Regions from separate parts of the Homo sapiens genome. Here all the other regions are linked to region 2. Evidence: promoter capture Hi-C in 16 types of primary human blood cells and fetal thymus (Javierre and others, 2016). All regions are on one chromosome and are shown on one strand. The core of a region is centred on a gene start or on the middle of the fragment in contact, and the rest is flanking DNA. Distances in the headings are between cores, read along the strand shown.

The links. The method cuts DNA at HindIII sites, captures the fragments that hold promoters and counts their contacts. A CHiCAGO score of 5 or more calls a contact.
Region 1: a fragment that was not itself captured here is called in contact with the fragment with the promoter of COQ3 in region 2 in 4 of 17 cell types (M2 macrophages, total CD4 T cells, M0 macrophages and 1 more); the score reaches 6.7 in M2 macrophages.
Region 3: a fragment that was not itself captured here is called in contact with the fragment with the promoter of COQ3 in region 2 in 1 of 17 cell types (total B cells); the score reaches 5.3 in total B cells.

What each region holds. Positions count from the first base shown.
Region 1 is chr6:99,588,976-99,592,719 of GRCh38, forward strand. No RefSeq gene overlaps it. Among named protein-coding and RNA genes, the nearest start is that of PRDM13, 16 kb to the right of the region's middle. RefSeq lists an enhancer at 172-341. The HindIII fragment of the contact is 3,193 bases long and covers 896-3,744 here.
Region 2 is chr6:99,392,772-99,396,459 of GRCh38, forward strand. COQ3 (coenzyme Q3, methyltransferase) reads right to left here and starts at 1,424. Exons shown (of 7, transcript NM_017421.4): 1 at 1,303-1,424. The coding sequence starts at 1,408. RefSeq lists an enhancer at 680-1,319. The HindIII fragment of the contact is 4,880 bases long and covers 909-3,688 here.
Region 3 is chr6:99,608,354-99,612,151 of GRCh38, forward strand. PRDM13 (PR/SET domain 13) reads left to right here. Exons shown (of 4, transcript NM_021620.4): 2 at 388-519; 3 at 834-954. Among named protein-coding and RNA genes, the nearest start is that of PRDM13, 3.4 kb to the left of the region's middle. The HindIII fragment of the contact is 797 bases long and covers 2,002-2,798 here.

The DNA of each region.
Region 1 (3,744 bases), core at 1,242-3,741, 200 kb after region 2:
TCCGGGGAGCGAGGCGCCCCCTGCTCCAGGCTGGGAACCAGAAATGCAGCAGGGCCTCAAAAAGAAACAAAATTCTTTCCCTCGGGGTTGCTGCTGCCGCACAACCTTACCCAGCCCGCTCTGCGGATGGGTCGTAGATTCCGGCTGGAAGCCGGAGGAAGTGCATAGAGGGCAGCTTCAAAAGCCAAGGCTGCGCTGCTTTGCGCGGGGCTTCTTCCCTCGCGTGCCCGCGCCGGGTGCCGGAGCAGCCTCCGCAAGCTGCTTTCATCTCGGTCTGCCGGGGCAGGGTCGAACCGCAGCTGTGGGGCTTCCTCTCCAAGCTTCGATTTGAGCTGGATGGAGACAGAAGAGACCGTGGTGCCCAGAGGCCAGTCTCACGGGGGATGGGGGCGGGTGGGATGGGATCAGAAAAAGCTTGAAATTCCTCCTGTACCTTAAACCTAAACAGCTGCGAGAGCCCCAGAGCAGGAAGCGCGGCTGCGGCTGAGAAGCTGGAGGAGGACCGGGGCGGGGAGGAGTAGCCCCAGCAGCAACAGCAGCCAGCCCGGGGGCGTCCTCTCCCAGCGGTGACCAGGGCCAGCCTTTGCCAGCCTGCCCGTCCTCGGACTCCTGGGGAACGTACACACAGCCTTTTGCTTAAGCAAGGCGCTCTGAAGCCGAATTACGTCTGCCTGGCATCCCGAAACACTGACGGCCCTGCTATGGCTGTGGGCAAATTCAGGGGTGGGGGTGTGAGGGGGGGACTAGCAGAGAAAGAGTTAATCTCCCAAGAGGAATATACATCAGTACTCTCCTGTCACTTGCTTTTTATTTAATGTTAATGTTAGACTTCACCAGATATTTCAACTGACAATTTCAACATTTTCACCTACAGAATTTCCTGGAAGGAAAAAAAAGCTTCTTAGTAAACATGTTTCTCTGTCTATGCTTCATAATATTGTCCACTATGGACACAGGAAACCAATCAACCGTTAACAATCACAGACATCATTTTGTGGTGCTTTTTCTTAGGGTATGAATACTTACATTGACTGCAGGTTTAGTTGAACTATAATTGTAACTCTTTGACTAAATGGAACTGATTTTAAATATTCAAACCTTTTTAAACAAAAGTAATAGGGCACGATGGCACTCGCAGCTGTTGGGAGGCTGAGGCAGGAGAATCGCTTGAGCGGAGGAGTTTGAGTTCCGCCTGGGCAACACAGGGAGATCCTGTCTTAACAAAAAAAAAGGTAAACAGTTAAGCATGAGAAAAATAATCTTTCCAGTCTTCCTAGTCTTCCAGAAGGCAGTGACTGACGTCCCTCAAACCATCGACTTTGGTACATTTTCTCCAGAGGATCAAAACCTAGGCCTGACTCTGGCATGGAGCCTGGAACAATGCAAGTAAATTAGACATCCTTTTCCTATGTATGACTGTGCCTTTCTTTGTCATGGTCACCAGGCTCTCCAGACTTTTTGAAAACTACGTAACAGTTACCTTGCAGTGCTCCTGAAAACACGGGGGAAGTTCATATTTGAGAGGCCTGGGAGGGGCTAGGATGATCCTAGTCAAGCACGAGCAGAGCTGCCGCACAGTGAGTGCTCATTGTGTGTTCATGGAAAGCATGAATGATGGTCATACCAAGAGAGGGGCTACCAAACTCTTACAGACGAATGTGAGCGCCAGGATCTCTTTTATTATTATTGATGTCATTATCATCAGTAAAAAAGCATTTAATGAAATTATTTTAAAAGGCTTCTTGCCTAGGGAGTCCAATACCAGCTTGGTACAGTCACAGAGGGCATCTGCCTTCCTTCCCCTCGTCGCCTTCCTCCCACTGTGCGAGCTTCGGAACCCTAAGGCCGGTTCACTGCGCATTGTCCCCGACAAGTTAGCAGCGCTCCCCGAGGGGTGTGAGGCACCAGGTAGGGTGCAGGGCGCGAGCGCGGGGCGGTGGTGCCCGGCGGGGGTGGGGTGCCCACGGACGCAGCCGCCTAGCTCTGCCGGCCGTCCTGAGGCAGCTGCTGGCGCCCGCCGGGAGGCGCGTGGCCACTTGCACTTCAGCGCGCGGTTCTCTCTCCGCAGGCTGCTTTCTAGGATTTGAAAGGGCCATAGCGACAGAAGTCGATCTCTAAGAAGGCATAAACTCGGCCTGAGACGTGGGGGGGAGACACTGCAGAGAAGAGGCCAAGTTCCAGCGCAGAAGGGGGGTTCCGCGGGGCCCTGGGATTGAGGAGACAGGAGCGAGCCTTCCCTTTCCGTCCTCTCAGGAAAACAGCCTGACCTGCTGGCACGTCCACCCCCAACAGAAGAGGGACCCCGGCGCGGCGTCCTTACCATCCCCATCCCCCGACCCCTGAGGAAGCCAGGGCTCTCTTCTTTCCCTGGGCGCCTGTCACAGGGGCAGAGGCTGGGCCTCGAGCTTTTCTGCACGTGAGCTCGGTGGTCCAGCAGAGTCTTCTGGCTCCCGGGAAAGCAGCGTGGCGCCGCCCCAGCCCCCAGTCCCCAGACTAGGGATTGGGACGTCAGTCATTGGCTGCAGGTTACTGGTCTGGGCTGGGCCCGCAGAGATCCCAAGCGCTCCTCTGTCGGTGCTTCCTCAGCGTCTGCGTTTCCGCAGATGCCCGAGGTCAGACAGTTTCGCAAGGGGGCTGAAGAGCCAAATGGGGAAACTGATGGAGCCTCACAAGTTTATTCCTTTCCCACGTCTGTGTTTGTCTAAGGGTGCTTTCTGTGCGGCTTTCTGAACTTGAGCATCACTTTGATGGAATGAAGTACAATCTTATGCCCTGAGCAATAACTTCTTATCGGCGATGACCCATTTAATCACTGGAAAATCTAATTGCATTGCTCCAGAGAGAGAAGTCTTTTTGAGATTCCAGCGTTCACTGTAACATTTCTTGTATCAAGAATGTAGAATCGATTGTTCACATTTATTTTCAGAAAAGGAGATAGAGTTGTAATGTTCTTACAAGTTTCTAACCAGTTTTTAAAAGACCAAACAATACTGAAAGGTAAATTAATTGCAAGCATAGGAGGCAAAACATTAGTTAGAAAAATTAGTCAAAACACCCTCTCATTTCAATTCCCAATGTGCAAGAGAAAGAAGCAAATCAAAATACCCACATCTCACATTTAGGTTACAGAAACTATTGCCTAATTATTCAAACAAACACCTAACATTTCTTTATTCTTTGATGTGGATATTGGTTTCTGTCCTCAGGTTTGTTTCCTCACAATTGATTGCTGCTTTTCTAAGAATCTCATTCTCACAAAACATGCAAACACAGAAATAATGGAGACTGTTTTCTTTTAGACACCCTTTTTAAGATGAAAGAAAACGGTTCCCATGTACTTCCAAAACACTTGCTCTCACTTGTTTTTTTTTTTTTTTTGCCATAATTGTTTCACATGCCTGTTCCTAAACCAGTCAAAAATGAAGGTAAAGGAACTACCATGACTGACTTAAGTTAATCAAGTTTCACCTCTTGGAGTCTGGAGGGACTTTGCATTCCCTAAAGCACTTGACCACTTTTACACAAACTCAGGGTTCTGCTAGCAAAAAACATATGGGGATGATGGTTTTTGGGTTGATATCTTAATATCTTCCATACCTGTGATCAGTCACAATCCCCAGTTTGTTGGCTATCTCTTGTCTAAATAGTTTACCTTCTCACATTTCTAGACCACTGATCATTTGAATCAAGGCAGTCTCCCCCACATTTATCTCTGTTGTATTTAATTATATTCATTCAGAGGAG
Region 2 (3,688 bases), core at 174-2,673:
CCTGCCGCCACGCCCAGCTAATTTTGTATTTTTAGTAGATAGGGTTTCACCATGTTGGCCAGGCTGGTCTCGAACACTTGACCTCAAGTGAGCTGCCTGTCTCGACCAACTGCTTCTAAAACTGGCCACCTCCTTCAAGATTTCTCTAAATATCCCATTCAAGAAGTTTCCTTGATCCCAAATATGGATTAAATGCTCCTTCTATGTTCACCCCTCAAAAATTGGAACTAGGTTTATTATATCTTTTCTAAATTTTTGATTATAAAAGACACATGTTTACTAAAAAAAGTTCAGAAAAAGAAAAGTATATAAAGGATAAAATGATAGAAAATCACCTACTCTACCACAGGCAATCACTGCAAAATTTCTCTATATATCTCCACCTGTAACTCCAAGTTCACTATACATACTGATTTGTAACTTTTTTTTTTTTTTGGCTCCTTCCAGGAAACAATGAAACTTTACTTTCTTAACACTATATCTTACTACTTTTCCATGTGGGTACAAATAGATTTAAATCATTTTTATTGGCTGTACTATTTTTCACTGTATGATAGTACCAACTAATAACCTTTATTAATGGGCGGTTAGATTCCCCATTTTTTTGTTCATTATATCCTGATCTTAGGTTTATCCTAACATTTTTAAAGAGATCCTTGCGGTGTCATTCATTTTTAAATTCCCAGTGCTCATACCAGTGTCTGGCATACAGTATTTGTTAAGAGTTCCATGTGAAAGATGAGCTTAAGTTTCTACTTAATACTGAGAGTTCGAAAATCAGACTGCTGTCTACAAGCACTGAGCAGTGCATTATTTTCTTGATCTCATTTGCAAATGCAGTCTGTTGGATTAACCTATTAATCAAAAAGTAATACAGCTGCCTTAAATTCTTTCTGAAAAAAACAGCAAGCTTTGTGCAAACAAAACACAGATACAAAGCTATGCATAACTACGAGGCGTGAGTTATTCCTGCCCCGGCAAAGGAAAGATGCATGACCTTCAGACTGCAGCACACGCAGAGCGGGTCGCCGGCTCCTGGGGCAAGGAGCTCAGCCACAAGAGACCCGCGGCCTGCGCTTTTCCAGACAGGACCACTGGTCCTGAGCTCTTTTCCCCGGCGTCCGCCAACGGGACTATGCGAGGTTTACAATGGAGAGAGATGGGGCCAGGACCAAGCCTTAGGTTTCGCGCTGACCCCTCGCGAGGTCCAGAGACAACCCACCGCCCCACCCCCGGCGCATGCGCAGAGACGCCAGCGCTCGCAATTGACTGCATGCGAAGGACCTCCGCACACACACTCACCCGCCGAGGAAATTAAGGGACGCGCAGCTTTTGTATTACAGCCTCCAGGCCCCAGCACTCTTAAAAACCAACCCCCGGAGGAGCCCAGCTTACGGCCACTCCACATCGCGACAAACGATCCCACCTCTTTTCCGGTCCCTCCCGAAAAAAGATCCCCAACATAAAGGTTCCGAGATCACTTTCGCCGTCTGCAGCCGACTTTTTTTTTTTTTTTTTTTTTTAGCAGAGTCTGTTCTGTTGCCCAGGCTGGAGTACAGTCCCCATCTCGGATTCTGGGATCACTGCAATCTCCGCCGCCCGGGTTCAAGCGATTCTCCATGTTGGCTGGTCTCGAACTCCTGACCTCAGGTTATCCGCCCGCCTTGGCCTCCCAAAGGGCTGGGATTACAGGCGTGAGCCACCGCGCCCGGCCTGCAGCCGACTTTCATGATTGTATTGTTGAGTGTTATGTATGTATGGCTATACTTTCACGCTCATTTAGCAAATTGCACATGGAATTAAACTGCAAGATGTTTTTACTATCATAAACAACTTTGAAGATACTTTATTGCTATAGGACACCTCAAACCTCATGTTCGAAGTTGACCTCAATCAGGCCATTACTTCGTGCTGTGTCTTCTTTTATTGCCATGTAGCTCTATTTCACACTTAACAGATGTCTCTTCAAGGACTTTTATATTCCTGTAAGACATTGACCCTACTGCTAAGAATGCAAGAGTATGGGAGCACTTCTTCCTCAAGGGAAGAATTGTTTCCCCTTTCAAGGCACTCAAATATCAGATGGCCAGAAGGCCAAATGTAAAACTTATTTTCTGCAAATGACTATTATCTTGTACAGGGTATATACATCATGTAGTAGGAGGCTTCTGTGGCTCAGTCTAGGCAAACTTCATTTAGAGCTAGGAACAGTGATCAGTAACATTTTACGTCTAAATGCACAAAGTCTTTCTTTGGGTAAGAACAATGACGAATCTCCAACATTGAAGACAAAAAATTATTCTGTATTTTCAACAGGTAGGGTCAAATTGGTAAAGGGTTCTTTCAGTTAGCGAAATTTACCGCTCAGGAATCTTTTTTTTTCTTTTTTTTTTGAGACAGCCTCACTCGGTTGCTCAGGCTGGAGTGCAGTGGTAGGATCTCAGCTCATTGCAACCTCCGTCCCCCAGGCTCGGGTGATTCTTCGTGCCTCAGCCTCGTAAGTAGCTGGGATTACAGGTGTATGCTGCCATTCCCGGCTTAATTTTTGTATTTTCAGTCAGGGTTTCACCATGTTGGCCAGGCTGGTCTCAAGCTCCTGACCTCAGGTGATCTGCCTGCCTCAGCCTCCCAAAGTGCTGGGATTACAGGTGGGAGCCACCTCACCCAGACAGCAATAGTCTTTCATTCATGGTTCTTAGCTAAAATATTGACCTCCTCCTAAGGGTGGTCGCACTTTTCAGTTGCTATGTCCTCTTCAGAGCTCCTCTACCCTTAGATACATGATCCTCTCTCCACATGAAGGCAGAAAGCTCTGCACAAAAGAAAATGTAGCACGTCTTGTATTTATTGGAGTGACACATCCAAGGAAAAAGCAAAGTGCAAGCACAATTAAATAAAGTTCTAGGAGCTTTATATGTACTTTCTTTGAAGGTACCACACTTCACTGGGCTTCAGAGCCTTTCCACTACATTTTAACAAGAAGGGGAATCAATGATTTGCTTTATGCTGACAAGTATGTCTTTTGAACACCCAGAACAGGTCTGGCCCAAATAAGCAAAACTAGCTCATAGTATTTCTCGCTACAAACATCAACAAAGGGCTTTCCCAATGACCCTTAAGCCTAAGTGGTATTGGAAAGTTGTAATGGCTGTAATGCAGTATATGGCCATTGTTGGAGATATTTCCCCAGACTATTATTGTTATGGTCTCACCCGTAAGTCTGCGTATTTATTTTGCTCTAAAACTCTTAATGTCTGTTTTGTAATTCAACTTTATAAACATTTTTTTTTTCATCCAAGGGTAAAGTGCTCCCTTGTAGCTTTGAAATGATATACAGCTGGGCGTGGAGGCTGACACCTGTAATCCCAGCACCTTGGGAGGCTGAGGTGGGCGGATCACCTGAGGTCAGGAGTTCAAGACCAGCCTGGCCAACATGGTGAAACCCCATCTCTACTACAAAAAGTACAAAAACTAGCTGAGAGTGGTGATGGAATCCTGTAATCCCAGCTACTTGGGAGGTTGAGGCAGGAGAATCGCTTGAACAAGAGAGGTGGAGGTTGCAGTAAGCTGAGATCACGCCATTGCACTCTAGCCTGGGCAACAGAGCAAGACTGTGTCTCAAAAAAAAAAAAAAAAAAGAGATATACCACTACATCCACTCAGTTTAACTGGTAAGTTTTCACATTTA
Region 3 (3,798 bases), core at 1,150-3,649, 220 kb after region 2:
GCCCTGGGACTGACCTAGAAATGTCTCTACCGTGGTGTTACGGCTGCTCTCAGAACTGCAAATGGGAGAGCTGGGGTAGGGGACAACTTGGTACAAGATGTGCCTAAGCACTCAGGGAGGATGCTCTCAACACCCCTCTCCCCTCCCCGTGTCGTCAAGGTGGGGCGCAGGGAAGTGGGAGTACTGTTAGCATAGGTAGACTTTCCTCTTTCTCCCTCCCCGAAGCAAGGTCCTAAGGAATTCTCCTCCTCCCAGTAGCCCATAGTGGTCTGGCCAAACCAAAAACAACCACTTTCCTGTGTTGGGTTGGGGTGGAGGATAAACTTTCTGTTTGGGTTGTGGGCCTGGCCAAGGTGCGGGGGAGAACGACCACTGCTTGTGTTGCAGGTGCGCATGGTGAGAGGGGAGCTGGTGGACGAGTCGGGGGGCTCCCCTCTGGAGTGGATAGGGTTAATCCGGGCAGCCAGAAACTCCCAGGAACAGACTCTGGAAGCTATTGCAGACTTACCCGGAGGACAGGTACTGCGGGCTTCTCTCCACACCCCCCCACTCCCCACCGCCAATTCAGTCTACCTAACCGTCCCTGCGGTGGCCAAAAATATTAAGAGCAAAGTACTTTAGCTAGACGTCTCATTTAAACGTCTCGACAACCCTTTAAGGTAGTTACTATTGTTTTTCCGTTTGAAGGATGACGGAAGTGAGGTTCAGAGAGCTCCAGTAGCTTCTCCAGGGTCACACAGCATCAGAATCCGGATTTGAACCTTTCTTCTCAGTTGCTTTTTGACCGATTACCCAGGAAATGACATTGAACTGTTCTATTCCTTGCGTCCCAGATCTTCTACCGAGCATTGCGAGACGTCCAGCCAGGGGAGGAGCTGACAGTGTGGTATTCTAACTCCTTGGCTCAGTGGTTCGACATCCCCACCACAGCGACTCCGACTCACGACGAGAAAGGTACCCATTCCAAAAGCGTGGATGGGCAAAAGTCCAGCCCTCCTCCTCCTGTCTTGAAGCGAGTCCCTAGACATAGCTCGATCTATGTAAAATGGAATTCACATTCCCTGTATTTCAAGGCAAAGAGGAGAGAGGTCGCCACTACCTCCTTAAAATCAACCATAAACGATAACAGTGATAGTAGCAATCTGGCTCACAATGGCAGGGGAAAAAGTAGGCTCTATGAACTTAATGGGGCCATCCTTTTTCTGTTGCATATTCAAACAGACCATTATTTACTCAATTAAAATAAAAAAAATTAGGCGCGGTAGCTCACACCTGTAATCCCAGCACTTTGGGAGGCCGAGGTAGGAGGATCACTTGAGGCTAGGAGTTCGAGACCAGCCTGGGCAACATAGTGAGACCTCTGTCTCTACAACAAAAAAATAATTAGCCAGGTGCGGCGGTACATGCCTGTAGTCTTAGCTACTCAGGATGCTGAGGCAAGAGGATCACTTGAGCCCAGGAGGTCAAGGTTCCAGTGAGCCGTAATGTTACCACTGCATGCCAGCCTGGGTGACAAGTGAGACCCTGTCTCAAAATAAATAAATAAAAATAAAAAATAAAAAAGGAGCCTTAAGTTGTTGTTACAGTAATTACATCATGAGTTCCACAGAGTATAACTCAAACCTGGAATGCTTTTACAAAGTCCATGGACATTTCTTCTCCACTGGCTTTCCAGGAGAGCAGTGCATTTCTACAGCATTTTAGAAGTATTACGGTACTTACAGCTGGTCAGTTGGCAGGTACTGAGACCCTTCCATTTAAGTGGCATTTATTCATTTCCCCTTGCCTACTTAAGTTGAATCTGGGATGTATCCCAGTTTCTTCTCAGATTTATTTGATCCCTTCAAAGCCAAGAGCGGATTTATGCAAATTAAGGTGCAGTAACTAAACAGAAAAACATTTTTAAACCTACCCTTGAACACTGAAGAACACTTCCTGTGGAAAGAAGTCTAGGAGGTGCTAGAATAGTTGAGGTTTTGGAGACTTCCTTTTCACACACAAAGCTTCCATGGCTTTTTTTCTTTGACAATTGTCTGTAATTTCTCCTAAAGACACATTTAACATCAAAATAATGAATGCTGTGAAATATTCTAACATGCTGTCTTCCTGAATTGCCTGCTCAATCTCATCCCTTTAGAAATAGGTTTAGAGAAATCAATACAAGTATGTGAATTAGGAAACACTTCATGAATAACACAGAATGAAGTTTATTCAAAACAATGAATCACTTTAAAGTATCATCGTCCTCTGTAAGTTAATTCTGTTTATTTTGTAGGTATAGTATTCAAATTATCCTAAAATAGTTTGTTCCTTGCATCACATTATATTACATTCTCTTGTCAACTTCTTCCAGTAAAAAGAGAAGTATAATAAAAGCCACATAGTGGAGAACTCTCAAATCTGCCACTATAGAATTTGGCGGGCCACTAACCTTTAGAAGCCAGCCATTTCTACAGAGAACACCCTTTCTTAGGTAGTCCCAAATAGTACAAAAGCAACTGGAATAGCGGTCCTTGTGTTTTCCTTTCAGCCAATTGAGCTTATAAACATCATATGGTAACAGATGTCAAAATAAACATTTTTTTTTTCTGGAGGTGAGAAGGCATGGGTGATTTTGAACCCTGACTTCCCCAGCTTGGAGAAGTTTGAACTCTTGACCACCTTAGAGTTACATGAAGAGGAGGCAGTCACTTGTTAAATGTATTTGATACTCTTGGCATGATTTGGATCTCAGAGTCTGGAGAATATGTCAGTTAGGATAACTGAAAAAAAGTATATATTAAACGTATGCTGCTTAAAGCTTGGAAAGAGGAAGAAATAAATAGGGATGGCTGCTATCCTCCTAATACTAGCTAACTTCAGTGGGTTTCAATTTCATAGTAAGATGGAGGAAAATACTGCCCCCTCATTTTAAGAAAAAAGCTTATGTGGCTTTGCATTGAGCTGAGTCATTCTGCGGCAGACTCTGAAAACTCCCTCTTTCAAAAGGGGTGATGAGAGAGAGAAAGGCTCTGAAGTTAGAAGGAAGTTATTTAAGACAACATACCCACCAAGAGAACCCAGGAGGTCTATTCTCTCTTTTTTTCACGATTCATTTTACATGAATGTTCAGTACAAGGTAACAGAATATTGAAATGGTTTTATCTAAGACTTCTATAAACGATTAGGGTAGGGTGTCATAGGCAAATACTCTTCTCCCATTTTTCTTTCTGCTCTCCTTGGACTCAGTTGGAATGCAGTGCTTATCACTTGAGTTTTCACAGGTCTTATGGGGTAGGGGTGGGAGCTACTTGTGTTATGCAAACCCAGAAGTTAATATACATAAAGGGAAGAAGATCTGGAATTCTTCCCTATTGTTATTTCTGTAGTAATATTTCAGAAGTTTGAGCTGCTCATATATGCAGAGGGAGAATTTAACTTTCCTGTTAAATTTTATGAGACTGATGTATATTTTGGATATTTCCTTGCGGTTCAACTAACTTCTTTCTCAGACATCTTTCCCTTCAGTATTATCAATCAACCACATTTTAAAAGAAACCCAACTGCAAGATCATTTCTCTCTACAGCAGTAATATGACCCTTTTAAGTGGAAATTAACTTCTAGTATGTGATCAGAATGTCTCATATATGTGTCTCTTGATTGTGTTCACAAACTCGGGCAAAATGAATAAACTAATGCTAATAATACTAAACACATAAAAAGATTTCACACCAAACACGTATATAGTGCCCGGTAGAGAATTCTGCACTTATTAAAAGCTGAGTATCTATATTTATTTATCGATCTATATCATTTAT